Regions from separate parts of the Homo sapiens genome. Here all the other regions are linked to region 1. The links are contacts of gene promoters, found by promoter capture Hi-C in blood cells and fetal thymus (Javierre and others, 2016). All regions are on one chromosome and are shown on one strand. Each heading gives the region's core, a stretch centred on a gene start or on the middle of the fragment in contact. The rest is flanking DNA. Distances are from core to core; before and after follow the strand shown. Region 1 holds the start of ATF2 (activating transcription factor 2). Region 2 overlaps IFT70B (intraflagellar transport 70B). Region 3 overlaps AGPS (alkylglycerone phosphate synthase). Region 4 overlaps IFT70A (intraflagellar transport 70A). Region 5 overlaps PDK1-AS1 (PDK1 and ITGA6 antisense RNA 1).

Region 1 (2,700 bases), core at 123-2,622:
TGTGACCGTCTCCATAATTTAAAACCTCTAAGAAATTTAAACTTTCACATTATAATTTAGGGATTAGTCAATCCCTTAGTACCAGTTAAATAATAGCCAGGAAAGCATTAGAAAACCTGAAGGTACATGTAAAGAAATGCTTTACATCACTATTTAAAATAGGTGTTGAATTTTAAGAGAAACATTTCTTTCACTAAAATTTCTGATGCCTAAGGTCCATCAGGAGTAATCTCTTTTACTCCATGATATTCACAGTAGTTTTGCTCTTGGCCTCACCAGTTTTAAGACTCTCCATTAAAGAAAGCCAATTTTATACTACCTAGGGGCACAAAAATAGTTCCCAGCTCCTCCTCTCTTTTTCCTCCTAGGTTCGGTTAAACGAGCGAACATAGAAAACACGTACACACACTCCCTTTCGGCCCTGGTCCCTAGGGCATTGATGAAAAGCAAATTATTTCTTTACATACGCTCTGCTGTCCACCCAGAGATTTAAAAAAAAAAAAATAAGGGAAAATACCAGAATCAGTCTGCACCCACACCTAAGCCCCGCCCCACCGGGAAAAAGCTGGGGGTAGCGGGATTGTGAGGGTGGCGGAAAGGACGGAAAAGGCCGAGACTTCCAGCTCCTAGGTTCTCCACACCATTCTTTCCTTCAAGCTGCACCGCAGCCAGGGACCCTGATTCTATTTTCAGCCGCGCCTCCCGATCCTCCTCCCCGCCACCATCACCAATACACGGTCCTCAATCGCTTGAATACTGGGTGGGGAGACCAGAGTGGGCCCTCTCCCCGCCCAACCCAAGGACTGTGGGTGGGAGAGGTCTCCCTGCGCACACGGCTGACTCGACGCGCGCCCCGAGGACCTCTGAACTGACCCAAGTAGGGTGAAGATAATTCGGAGGGAGGGGTCTAAGAGGGAGCCGTTATTCCTTTTTCCTCTGCCTTAGGAAAGCGCGCGAGAGGGAGGGGCCGGAACAACGAACGCTGGTTACCTAACGGTCCGGCCCAGCCAGTCAGGTTCCCAAAGCCCACACCGCGCGGGCCGCCGAGGTGGCAGCACAGCCACAATCGCCCCAAGGGCTAAGGAGCACGTCAGGAGCACCCGAGGTGATGGGAAACGGGGGGTGGGGACTGTGCTGAGCGACGTCGCCATGTTAGCGCCTTCTTTCTCCGTATCCCTACAGTCTCCAGCCCTGCTGACCTCTGCCCATCGTTACTCACCTTTCCAGGTCACTAGTTCATGATCCTTTCGGTCACCCGCGAGCCCTGAGCACAGCCGTGTTTACAAAGCACCCCTGGAGGAAAAGGCTGAACGGCACTTTAAAGGCCACGGGCTCCCACAGGCTTCCGTCCTCTCTCGCGAGATCGGACTGACAACCCCCGCCCGCTCGCCCCGCTCCCGGCATCCCCACCTTCCTTCTGGCGCCCCTCCCCTTCACCCACACGCCCCTTCTTGCCTTCCTTCTGAGGGAGCGCCTCCGAGTCAGGTGATTCCGTCAGGCTTAAGGAGAAGAAGGCGGGTCTTCGGCAGGGCGGGTAGAGGGGACGGGCATCAAAGAGCACTCGGGCGCTCATGATTGGACAAGGAGCCCGAAGGGCGGGAAGCAGTTCTGGAGGGGGCGGGACCAGAGGGCCCAAGGAGCGTTACTTCTGTAAACCCGGAGCTGTGGAAGACTGTGATTGGCTGTCGGCTGGAGGAGGGCGCGGGTGCAGGCGGCGGTGAAGGGCTAGGCAGGGCTTTGGCGGTGTGAGGGGAGGAAAGGTGGTGAGCTCCGGAAAGGCTGCTAGAGGGAAAGCAGGATGGGTCCTCCGAGCCCAGCCCCAGGAGCCGGGTGTCTCCGTTTCCGTCACTTCCCAGCACTAGGTAGGGAGGTGGGTAAAAGTAGGCTGCGTTCCTCAGCCCACCCCTTGGCTCCCCGGGAGCCTGAGGCGGGGAGCTTCGGGTTAGGTGAGGTTTGGGGGAGGCGGAGTTTGCTGGTAATTGCCCATCCCTCCCCTCCAAAAAACCCCACACAACTTAAAGATTTTAATATTAACTGTAAGGATGTTGGTTATTCAATAAATAGGCACAAGTTGAAAAGTATGATCAGAGGCCTCTGTGAGAATTTACATTATTCAATAAAAGATTTTCAGTGTCTTATTTTTTCCATTTATTAAATACTGATTTCTAGTCTGGAACAAAATTATGAACTAGTTTATATATTAACATAAAATACACTCTCAAAATTGTTGAAAGGTTTTGGGGGATAGTATGAGAGTTAATGAGCCTGAAGTTCAAGAATGATATCTGGCATAAAAGTGAAATTGTAATGGCATTGACATTTTAACAGGTAGGTCTCTGGACCGCATACATGTGTATAAGCCAACTCAGTCCTCTTTTAAAACTAATTTTAGTTAAGAAACATTAAGCCAAATTATTAACACTTTCCTACTTAAAATGAAAGTACCGTCCCCATATAGTAACAGTAATGTAGTAGTGCCATTGTAGTGTAACACTAATTATGTCAGCAAAACCTCACAGTTCAGATTACTCATGATGGAAATGGTGGACAAAATGTTTGATTGACATCACAATTGTTAGGTCTAGAACGCATTGATTAAATAGATGCTTCTCTCTCCATCTCCCAAAACAACTAATGTGAGAAAAAGAACTGCAAATGTTACGACATTTCAAAAGAAGTTTGGGTCAATTAGAATAGATT
Region 2 (2,700 bases), core at 126-2,625, 2.4 Mb after region 1:
ATGATTCAGTCTAATACACTTGATTTTTCTAAGCCAGGTCAAGTTAGGATTGACAGTTACTTTTTGTGGGAAGAGAGGAGTGAGGAGTGGGAAATCAAATAGTAAGGCTCTTGTAAGGTTCAGAAAATAAAATGCCTGATCAGAATGCATGTGGTTCCCAGTGGGAACTCCAAATAACTCTTGGGAGTTGCGGACATGAAATGAACATTACAACTTAGAATTGACCTTTTTGGTCAGACCTGGTGGCTGAGATTTTTCCTTATTCAAGAGGCTACAACATGGAAACACTGTACAGCCAGCATATCCTAAATTGCAAACACAAAGGTAGGAATTAAGAACTGAGAACTGGACCCAGTGATTTGTGCCAGTAGTCCCAGCTACTTGGGAAGCTGAAGTGGGAGTATGCTTAAGCCTAGGAGCTGGATACTAGCCTGGGCAACAAACATAACAAAACCTGTGTCTCTTAAACAAACCCCTGAGTTCTCAGGATAGCTCTGTTATTTCTCACAGAGATATTTAAAAAGTTATCATGGAAAATAGTAACAGTGTATCTTGTTCATATATTTAAATTATTAAAGGGAACAAAAGAAAACCAGGGAAATTTGTTCTTTGATAATCGTTCATTGTCTCTACATTATAGCACCATAATTTTGTTAAGGCAACAAAATTTTTTACTGACTTTTGCACGTTAAAACCACTTATAACCTAAGGAATTTTGGTTAGGTAAAGAATTATATCCATATGAATAAACACTGCCAAAATATCCTAAAGTCTATATAAAAAGTATGCATTACAAATTAATGAGTGTAAATTGTGAGACTACTCTCACACAATCCCTGAAATGATTATTTAAAGACTACTCTTAACTATTACTGAGATAGTGCTTGGTCCCTGAATGATGTAATCCTTGTGCAAAGACCCCTCAAGATACGTCAAAGCACAAAAGATAACAGAGGAAAGGAAACAAACGTATTACAACTTCTGATATAAACATTCCTCATAAGTTTGGAATTTTTCATAACTCCTGGGGTAAAAGTTCTTAGAATATGTCACTTTCTGGGAAATTTAACAGCAAAAGTTTTAGCTACTTTTTTTTTTATAATGCATAAGTGTACAAAGTTCAACATGTAACAAATATAAAGATGCCAAAGGGTAAATAAAGCGATGCAAATTTACATAACAAAGCCATTTGATAAATGCCACTATCAGCTATTACTATATATTCCATCCTATAATCTCATAAATCAAAGCTTTTAACTGCCTAGACTCATATGTGACTGTATTCTTTCCAACATGCATTCTTTCTTCTTCCAGGGGTTGTTCAATAACAGCAGGTATGTTTCTGCCATGAAGTTCACAGTGTTCTAGAAACTGGACACATTCTTGAATAACACTATCACGAAGCATGATTGTGTGTTTTGACATGTTTTCTAACAAGGACAGGAAGCATCTTTTGGCATAATACCAGGTGTCTGTTCCCAGCTTTTTGTTGTAAGGTTCCAAGCTTTTGATAACTCGAGAAATACCAAAGTCATAATTTCCTTTGGCACAATAAAGAGTTCCTATCACCAAATTCACAATGCAGAGATGGTACATTTTCTTATCTGGGTCATCATAAGAGAGCTGCTCTTCCTCCTTTTCAATCTTCCTCATCAACTCCTCTGCTTCTTCATTTTGACTTGTCATAATATAGGAAACACAGAGATTAGCCAGTACAATAGCACTGACATTCAGGATGTTATCATAATGCTTCTTGACTATGGGTTCATAGAAACCAATGGCTTCTTTGTATTTGTTTTCCTGCATGAACAGAACATGAGCCACATTCAACTTCCACACATCATGGTCGTTACAGAATTCCACAGATTTGCGGAAGATCTTTTCCACCATTGGATAATTTTCAAGATTCCAGTAGATTTTTGCCTGAGCCATCAACACAGGAATGTATTTCTCCATGGTTTCATCATATTCATTCACTGCCTTTTTGATAGCTTCATCATCTCTATTGTGTCTTGCTTCCTGTACTTGTATGGTAAGTTTCCGGAGGACCTCAGTCAGCATCCCTGCTAGCCCATCAAGCTTAATGAAAGCCTCTTCAGGAGCTGTCTGGCAAGTGATCACAGCGTCCAAGAAGTCATAGAGATAGGGTGTGAGGAACTTATAAATCAAATGGGCATTTTCTGCCAGGACATCTGCTGCCAGGTCAAAATACTCATATTTACAGTAGAGCAGCAACAGGTTGCCAAAAGTCTCTGGAGGAAAGGGATTCTGTTGGAGCAAAAACTGTAGCTTTTCAAACCCTTCTGTAGGCCTGGCATCCATGTTCATTAGTGCCTGGTTGTGTAGGGTCACAGGGTCCAACTCTTCCTCTGCCCTGGGTGGCATGTCAGTGAGGGCTTCTTGAGCTGCCTCATAGTTTCTCAGTTGGTATTCTATAGCTGCCTTAAGGTTGAAGGCTTCCACCAGAGCAGTCTGATGGAGGACTAAGGTGTTGCCAACACTGCGAACATCAATGCCCTCAGTGGTCATGCCCACACCTAGCTCAGGGTGCTGGCGGATGCCACGCTCAATAATCTCAGCGATATGCTTCAGTGCTGAAGCATACTGTCGGCTGCTGTAATAGGCCAAAGCCAGGTTGTAGGAAAGGTCAGGCTGGTAGCCCGAGGCCTGCAGGGCGGCAAAAAACTTGGAGCATGCAGC
Region 3 (2,700 bases), core at 60-2,559, 2.2 Mb after region 1:
TTCAAAGTTTTTGTGATTAAATAGATCATGATCAAATACTTTGTCATATAGTTAAGAAGGCATTAGTTTATGTTGTACTTAATAAATTATAAAACATCATTCTGTCAAAATGAAATTCATAATAAGAAAATGTAATGGGTGGTTTAAAAAGGTAGACCAGCCAGTTTACTTTTGTGAGTGCATTTTGCCATTTGACTTGTGGAAGAAGACAGTGTTTGGAATGAAAGGGAATTAGGAAGAATGTGGAAGACCCAAGATCAGAGAAGAAAGGAGGAAAAGAGAATAGGTCATGGAGGGTTTACTGCCTAGTTGCAAACTGTCTTTGGACTGTGAATGAACAGGAAACTGAAGATTTAATCGCTGTGGTTATTTGTTAATATGCTTCTCTAGATTGCATTTTAAGATGGACCAGACCTTCTCTACATAGACTTTTTTATGTTGGGAAGTTACTATAGAGCCATCTACCCTTGTGGTCATTTAATAAAAATACCTGAGAATGAATTAAGTGATCTGTTTTTAGGCTGCAGAGAAATGGATTGCTGTTGTAGTCAGATGAGATACTTTATGGAACACTTTAAAAGCAAGTGCTAAGCAAATATTACTCCGTTTGATTTTATTTCCTTATTATTGAGAAGATAACTTCTGCTGTTATTCCGATTAGTATGTTAATTTCAACCCTAAACCAAATCAAGGGATCATGACTAGAGTCTACCGTTGTAGCATAAAGTATTAATAGCTCTCTGCCTATTAGTGTTCTCTTTATTTGTTGGGTCTTGGGGGTGATATTTTGTCATATCCTTGTCCCAACATCTGGGCTCAGAATCAACTGAGAGATAAGACACAGGATACAGACAGAGAGGTAAAAACATTAGCTTTTTTACTGATAATGCTGGTTGGAGATCGTGGCTTAGATCTGTACTACCTAATATTTACCCTGAATTACACTCCATCACAGGCAGTGTACCACAGAAGGCCTCCTCTGCAGGTGTAGAGCCTAACACATGCTACCAAAACAGTAGAGAGAGAACTTACAGCATAATTAACTTTTGCAGAATGAACACATCTATTTTATCTGTATTTAGATTAAGAAACAGCATTACCAGTACTCTAGGAAGCCCTCTTTGTGCTCATCCCAGTGGCTCCTTCCACCAGGATAACCACTACCTTGACTTCTAACATATAGATTTGCCTGTTTGAACTTCATGTAAATGGAATCATACAGTGTGTACTTTTTTGTGTTTGGCTTCTTTCCTTCAGAGTATTATGTTTGTGATATTCCTCCATGTTGCATCTAGTCACATTTTGTTTATCCTCATCGATGAATAGTATTCCATTGGGTAGATATATACCACAATTTATCCATTCTGTTATTGATGAACATTTAGGTGGTGGTTACTTTTGGTCCGAATAATTACTTGTTTTAATATAAAGTGCATATCAAACTAGTGTTTTTATAGATATTACTGCATAGGAAGAGGTTAAAGTAATTAAAATAGTGTTTAAGAATTAATATATTTACTTTTCTTAAGTACATCAATTGTTTGAGGTAATAAACAGAATGCTCCCAGGTACTAAATCATTTTTATAAATAAATTAAATTGGATTTTTAAACAAAGTGACCTTGCAGTGTTCACATATTATTTACGAGCTTATAAGATTTCAGCTTAAAATCATAAGTCCAACTCTATTACTCAATTACACATTTTAAATTTGAGTTACAAGTCAGTCATTCTTAAAGACTAGATTCTCTTAAGTTTTGTAAATATATAAAATATCAATTTTTTGTATAGTTTTCTTAAAAACATTAACATCTGTCTTTGGTTCTCTTAAGCATTTGTATATTTAATTCTGGATCTTTCAGTAGTTGAAATACGCTTACTCATTGAAAAAAACTGCTACTATTCCAGTAACTGCAGTTACTTTTGATGAGAGAGTTTTGCCTCCTGGGTGAGATTCGGAGGGGTAGATATCGTCTTGTCATTCACTAAGAAAACTGTTATATGATTGCATATAACATTTGTTCTTGCCAGCATGTTTGAAATTACTAATCAGAGATTTGGCCAGGTTGCTGACCAGATTCTTGTTGTTGACCTCAGTGGGACTCTCCAAATTCTATTTATAGTTGCTGTGTCAGAGACCTCATCCTATAAGCAGGGGAATGCTCAGGTATCCCAGGACCTTAGAATCAAGTAATGTGAACTATTTAATTTGCTATAATCACAGAAGTTCGCATTTCCAACTCAGATTGATTACCTAGTTGGGTTTTACATTTTTTCTAAAGGTGCTTGAACTAACTGTATAGGAATCCAGCCTAAGGAATATTAAAATGACACCTACTTGAATTCTCTTATCACTTTAGTCACATATACTATGGAGTGGATATTTTGCTGTCAACTCAAATTTTGTAGGTCGACACTATCCAGTAGAGCTTTCTGTGATAGAAATATTCTGTAATCTGTGTTATCCAGTATCATAGCCACTATGGAGCTGACTTTTAAATTTTGTTTAATTTTAATTTAAATAGGCACATGTGGCTAGTGATATACCGTGCTGGCCAGTACAGGTGTAGGTGGAAACCTAACTCATTATCTTCTTTCTCATTCTCTAGAACTTATTTATCTGGGCTTTCTCATATCTCATAGTGTTAACACTAGTCCCACAGTCACATCCTTCAATCCCTATCTTGAACTTCTTTTCATT
Region 4 (2,700 bases), core at 193-2,692, 2.4 Mb after region 1:
CTATTCTATGTGGCTTTGACCTTTTGGAAAGTGCATGGCCTCTTCTCCTTGTATTAAATAAAACAAGAATATGAGGACTGATGATTTGATTTGGTGAGTTAGTTATGGAAGTAGTTCTGGCATCTCTTATTTCCATTCTGTTATCCATTACTTCTGTTCTGTTAATGGCAGCAGACACTTGATTAACTACTGAGATTTGGACATGCAGGAGATCCAAGGTGGATTGTGAAGTACATCATTAGCTAAATCTCCATTACATCTTCACTTCACCGGTTCCTCTGTTTCCAGATTTCTGGCAGACTGGCATCTAAAGGCCTTCATGTTAGAAGCAGGAGAGGCTCTAAATATTTCAAGAATAATTGAGGAAAAAATACACATTATAACAGCTTGTCAAACTACTGAATGGAACGGTGGTTCATCATTTTTTGGAAGGATTAAAAGCAAATCTCCTCTTCCCGAACAAAAACAAACATTAGTACAAAAACTGAAAGAGGAAGTTAAGAGAATTATACCATTTCTAAATACTTATAAAATTATTAATTTATGCGCAACCATAACAGAGACTGGGGACCACCCTATATATATTCATAGCTACGGCTGTAAGCAAAAATTCCAGGTAAAAAGGCAAAAATCCAAATTTCTTATTAATAATCAGTATAACATCCAACAATAACAATCACTTACCATAGGGGTTAACATTTACTGTAAGCCAAAATCCTAGAAAACATTAATATAAAATACAATTATATATTTCCTAGCTGATTTGCTTATATATCCAGGTCATAAAAAAAGAAAGGCAACTTTTTTCTATGTGGCTTATACAGAATCGGATGTTACAGCTAAAAGTAATTGTAAAGGCTTCTGATAGTTCAAATGATTGTGAAATCCCAAAGAATAAAGGAATTTCTGACAGCCTAAAATTAGAAGGTATGGAACTCATACTTTTATTCTTCTCATTCTCAGTTCAGTGCTTATTTTTTCCTAAAAAATTAAAAAGTAAAAATTAAAAATTTCAGTTTTTAAAAAACCAAAAATATTAATAAGCTTCCACACTTAATATATGTCAGTATCCACAAGGAGGCAAAATCATTTCTGTAAAATCAAAAATAGAACATGAAGAAAAACGTTTATTATAAAACTTAAGAAGCAACCAATCAACCAAATTATGAAAAAAAATTTTGTCACTGACCAAACCTCATAACCTGAAAAGAACCAAGAAAAGAAATTCCCATTATACTTGTACTTCTAAAAGGGCTTAGAGGTCTAAACTAGACTTCGTTGCAATCCAGAAAGTTAAAGGACTAAAAAACTGGAGAAATAGAGTTAAGAATTAGATTTATCAGACAGCATAGTCTATGCTGAGATAGCAAAATAGACATGGCTTTATTTGCTGATTGAGAAGTGGTCCAGCCGTGGGCTAGCAGTCATTTACATATCAGTGACCAAATGCAAACATACCCGTACTAACAGTGCTTTGGTCCATGACATACCCTTTTGACAGCCCAAAGCTGAAACGTCAACTCTATCTGGGGTTACTTGCTTATACAAAGATGTTACTCTAGCAATTGTTGCTTGAGGGCAAGACCAGATGATTGTCACTAGTAGGAAGAAAGCAGAAGTGATGCAGCTTACACTGCATAGTCCCTACCCTTCTGGATTAAATGAAAAAGTTGCTCAAACATAAACTTGTTCTTACAAAGTGGATAAGATTCAAAATAAGACAAATATAAAGATGCCAAGGCTAAATACAGATAAAAAAAAGTGTGGTACGTAAGAAAGCCATTTTGAAAAAAGCCACTATCAGTCATAACTACTTATTCCATCCTATAATCTCATAAATCAAAGCTTTCAATTGTCTGGACTCATCTGTGACTGTATTCTTCCCAACATGCATTCTTTCTTCTTCGAGGGGTTGTTCAATAACAGCAGGTATGTTTGTGCCATAAAGTTCACAGTGTCCTAAAAACTGGACACATTCTTGAATAACACTGTCATGAATGACTATCATGTGTTTTGACATGTTTTCTAACAAGGACAGGAAGCATCTTTTGGCATAATACCAGGTATCTGTTCCCAGCTTTTTATTATAAGGCTCCAAGCTTTTGATAACTCGAGAAATACCAAACTCATAGTTTCCTTTGGCACAATAAAGAGTTCCTATCACCAAATTCACAATGCAGAGATGGTACATTTTCCGATTTGGGTCATCATAAGAGAGCTGCTCTTCCTCCTTTTCAATCTTCCTCATCAACTCCTCTGCTTCTTCATTTTGACTTGTCATAATATAGGAAACACAGAGATTAGCCAGTACAATAGCACTGACATTCAGGATGTTATCATAATGCTTCTTGACTATGGGTTCATAGAAACCAATGGCTTCTTTGTATTTGTTTTCCTGCATGAACAGAACATGAGCCACATTCAACTTCCACACATCATGGTCGTTACAGAATTCCACAGATTTGCGGAAGACCTTTTCCACCATTGGATAATTTTCAAGATTCCAGTAGATTTTTGCCTGAGCCATCAACACAGGAATGTATTTCTCCATGGTTTCATCATATTCATTCACTGCCTTTTTGATAGCTTCATCATCTCTGTTGTGTCTTGCTTCCTGTACTTGCTTGGTGAGTCTCCGAAGCTGCTCAGTCAGCATCCCTGCTAGCCCATCAAGCTTAATGAAAGCCTCTTCAGGAGCTG
Region 5 (2,700 bases), core at 94-2,593, 2.6 Mb before region 1:
TTTTAAGGTCTGACACCTTTTTAGGTCTGATAAGAGACATTTACTATCTGTTCTCTCTGAAGCCTGCTATGTGGGACCTTTATCTGTGTAATAAGAATCTTGGTCTCCACAACCCCTTGTCTTAATCCAGACACTCCTTTCAATTGATCCTAGGTCTTGAGATAGTAACTTAACTCTTTCAACCAATTGCCAGTCAGAAAATCTTTGACTCTCCCTATAACCTGGAAGCCCCCTCCTGCCACAAGTTTCCCAATCCCCCTATATTACGTCTTAAAGTTGTCCTGCCTTTTCAGACCAAAGCAGTGTACGCTTTACATGTACTGAGTGATGTCTGCCTGCAACTTCTGTTCCCCTAAAACTGTACACAATCAAGCTATGACCCGACCACCTTGGGCACATGTTTTCAGGACCTCTTGGGACTGTGCCTCAGGCCTTGGTCACTCACATTTGGCTCGGAATAAATCTCTTAAAATATTTTACAGAGTTTGAGTCTTTTTTTTAAATCAACAGTTCAAATAAATTTTTAAAACTTTTAATGTGCCCAAATTTATCTTTTAACATTACCAGTCTCAGTTTGTGAAAGTCTAGAGTTCTCCCTGTCCATGTCTGTAAATTCTTGAGGCTCATAGTCTCATTTATAGTACCCCCCACCCCACCACCACTCAGACTCTTTGTGTGCAAAGTCTATCTCCATTGCCACAAACTCTCATAAAAAAAATTCATCCTTTCCTCCAATTTTCACAAAAGCACAACACATAAAAGCTTCAGTATCCAATAATCTCTCTTTTTTTGCAAACTTTACTGAAGGTTTGGGTTATAAGGAGTGCTCACATTGTGAACAGTCTTTGCAATCTTCTGCCTCCTCCCCTTCCCCTTTGCTCTACAAAGTGAATTCCTCTCCTTGCTTCCTGTAAAGCTGTTCTGAGCCTTCCCTACAGATCTCTCCTTCCACTCCATCAGCATTTCAAAGCACTTACTCCAGATAAAAACTATGTTTGTGCTAAATAAATCCTGGTGAATAGGATGCCCTCATATCACTACACAAGTAATTACCTGAATCAAAGTACCCTTTAAAGAAAGAAGGCAAATGTATATGGAGAAAAATTATGCTTCAGTGGAATATTACGTATTGTTTAGAGCACAACTTTTCAGGGTATCTGATTCCAATTCACTGTCTTTGAGCTATTTTACAACTCTGTAAATTGCAGATAAATGGTAACAACGCACATAATTCTTACCTATACATGTGCAAATAAATTCTGTCAGGTAGAAGGGCAACCCTCCCTGATTCCCAAGGAAAGAGCCAGTTTTACAGCCTTTGCAAATTTTTCTGAATTCCTGTTTTTTCACTTCTCCTTTGAACTGGCTATAATATCTTTACTGGTTCCCTCATTTAATTAATGTATTAAATAAAATTTTTGACACATGTTCATTTTATAGCTGCATGAGAGTCATTATTTTACCTTTTTTGAAAATTATCTTTCCAGCATATCAAAAAGGGTTCTAGGGCAGGAAATGATAGCACACTCAAAAGGGAAATTGATTAATTAATTAATGAAGGGACTATTTACAGGAGTGTGGGCAGAATTAAACCTCCAGGGCTGGTGAGCACCCAATCAGCAACAGAGAAAAATTAGTACTATCTCTATGGATACTGGACAAGGGTAGGAAGCTATGGCCACACTTAGAGGAACACAAATTATAGCTTGGAAGAAAAGAAGCAGGGGGAAAAAATATGACTTTTCTTTCCTTTTGTCTTCTGAACCTCATGAAGCCAGAGGGTACTGGGGACAAGGTGACACAGTCTAGCTTGTTTTGTATTGCTTTTTCCATTCCTTTCAGTCACATCAGTCCAACATGGATCACAAATTCTCAGTGAATTTACAGGGGCTGGCTCATGTCTGCTATGTAAAAATTTTTTTATAGAAGCTTACAGTATGATTACACTTTATATCTACATGTGTGTCTTAGTCTGTTAGTGGTGCTGTAACAAAATACAGTCTGGATAATTTATAAATGACAGAAATTAGTTTTCTTACAGTTCTAGAGGCTGTGAAGTTCAAGATCAAGATGCCGGAACTCAGTGTCTCATAAGGGCTTTCTTGCTGTGTCCTCATGTAACCATCCAATAGGTTTTTCTTGCCTGCTGACCAGATAGAGCCAATTTATCAAGACAAAGAGTTTAGTGCATGTGGAGCTGGCTAAACAGAAGATGAGTTTTATTACTACTCAAATTAACCTCCTGAAAATTCAGAGGCTAGGGTTTTTTTATAGTTTGGCAGACAGCAGGCTATAGAATGGGGAATGCTGATTGGTTGGGTCAGGAATAAAATTATAGGGAGTCGAAGCTGTCATCTTATGCTGAGTCAGTTTCTGGAGGGGGCCACAAGACCAGATGAGTCATTTTACTTATCTGTGTGGTTCCAGCTGGTCCACTGGAATTCAGGATTTGAAAAATAACTCAAACACCAATGTTAGGTTTTATAATAGCAATGTTATCTATAGGAGCAATTGTGGAGGTTGGTGATCTTGTGGACTCTGGCTGCATGACTCCTGAGCTATAATTTCTAATCTTCTAGTTAATTTGTTAGTTTACTTATTTTTTGAGACAAGGTCTCGCTCTGTCACACAGGCAGAAATGCAGTGGCAGGATCTTGGCTCACTGCAAACTACACCTCCTGGGCTCAAGTGATGCTCCCC

The links. The method cuts DNA at HindIII sites, captures the fragments that hold promoters and counts their contacts. A CHiCAGO score of 5 or more calls a contact.
Region 2: a contact is called between a fragment that was not itself captured here and the fragment with the promoter of ATF2 in region 1, in 1 of 17 cell types (total CD8 T cells). The highest score is 6.0, in total CD8 T cells.
Region 3: a contact is called between a fragment that was not itself captured here and the fragment with the promoter of ATF2 in region 1, in 1 of 17 cell types (M2 macrophages). The highest score is 5.9, in M2 macrophages.
Region 4: a contact is called between a fragment that was not itself captured here and the fragment with the promoter of ATF2 in region 1, in 1 of 17 cell types (total B cells). The highest score is 5.1, in total B cells.
Region 5: a fragment that was not itself captured here is called in contact with the fragment with the promoter of ATF2 in region 1 in 1 of 17 cell types (neutrophils); the score reaches 9.2 in neutrophils.

The regions. Positions count from the first base shown.
Region 1 is chr2:175,166,831-175,169,530 of GRCh38, forward strand. It overlaps ATF2 (activating transcription factor 2), which reads right to left and starts at 1,373. Exons shown (of 14, transcript NM_001880.4): 1 at 1,220-1,373. It overlaps MIR933 (microRNA 933), which reads right to left and starts at 879; the gene lies at 803-879. RefSeq lists a silencer at 1,322-1,391. The HindIII fragment of the contact is 6,773 bases long and covers 1-2,700 here.
Region 2 is chr2:177,549,551-177,552,250 of GRCh38, forward strand. It overlaps IFT70B (intraflagellar transport 70B), which reads right to left. Exons shown (of 1, transcript NM_152517.3): 1 at 1-2,700. The coding sequence ends at 1,216. Among named protein-coding and RNA genes, the nearest start is that of IFT70B, 1.9 kb to the right of the region's middle. RefSeq lists an enhancer at 2,246-2,700. The HindIII fragment of the contact is 254 bases long and covers 1,249-1,502 here.
Region 3 is chr2:177,398,628-177,401,327 of GRCh38, forward strand. The region is part of intron 1 of AGPS (alkylglycerone phosphate synthase); the gene reads left to right. Among named protein-coding and RNA genes, the nearest start is that of AGPS, 7.2 kb to the left of the region's middle. The HindIII fragment of the contact is 3,153 bases long and covers 1-2,700 here.
Region 4 is chr2:177,614,894-177,617,593 of GRCh38, forward strand. It overlaps IFT70A (intraflagellar transport 70A), which reads right to left. Exons shown (of 1, transcript NM_152275.4): 1 at 1-2,700. The coding sequence ends at 1,811. It overlaps IFT70A-AS1 (IFT70A antisense RNA 1), which reads left to right. Exons shown (of 3, transcript NR_198966.1): 2 at 2,408-2,627. Among named protein-coding and RNA genes, the nearest start is that of IFT70A, 2.5 kb to the right of the region's middle. The HindIII fragment of the contact is 801 bases long and covers 1,043-1,843 here.
Region 5 is chr2:172,550,566-172,553,265 of GRCh38, forward strand. All of the region lies in intron 1 of PDK1-AS1 (PDK1 and ITGA6 antisense RNA 1), which reads right to left. Among named protein-coding and RNA genes, the nearest start is that of PDK1, 4.2 kb to the right of the region's middle. RefSeq lists an enhancer at 2,256-2,550 and a silencer at 2,256-2,550. The HindIII fragment of the contact is 1,167 bases long and covers 761-1,927 here.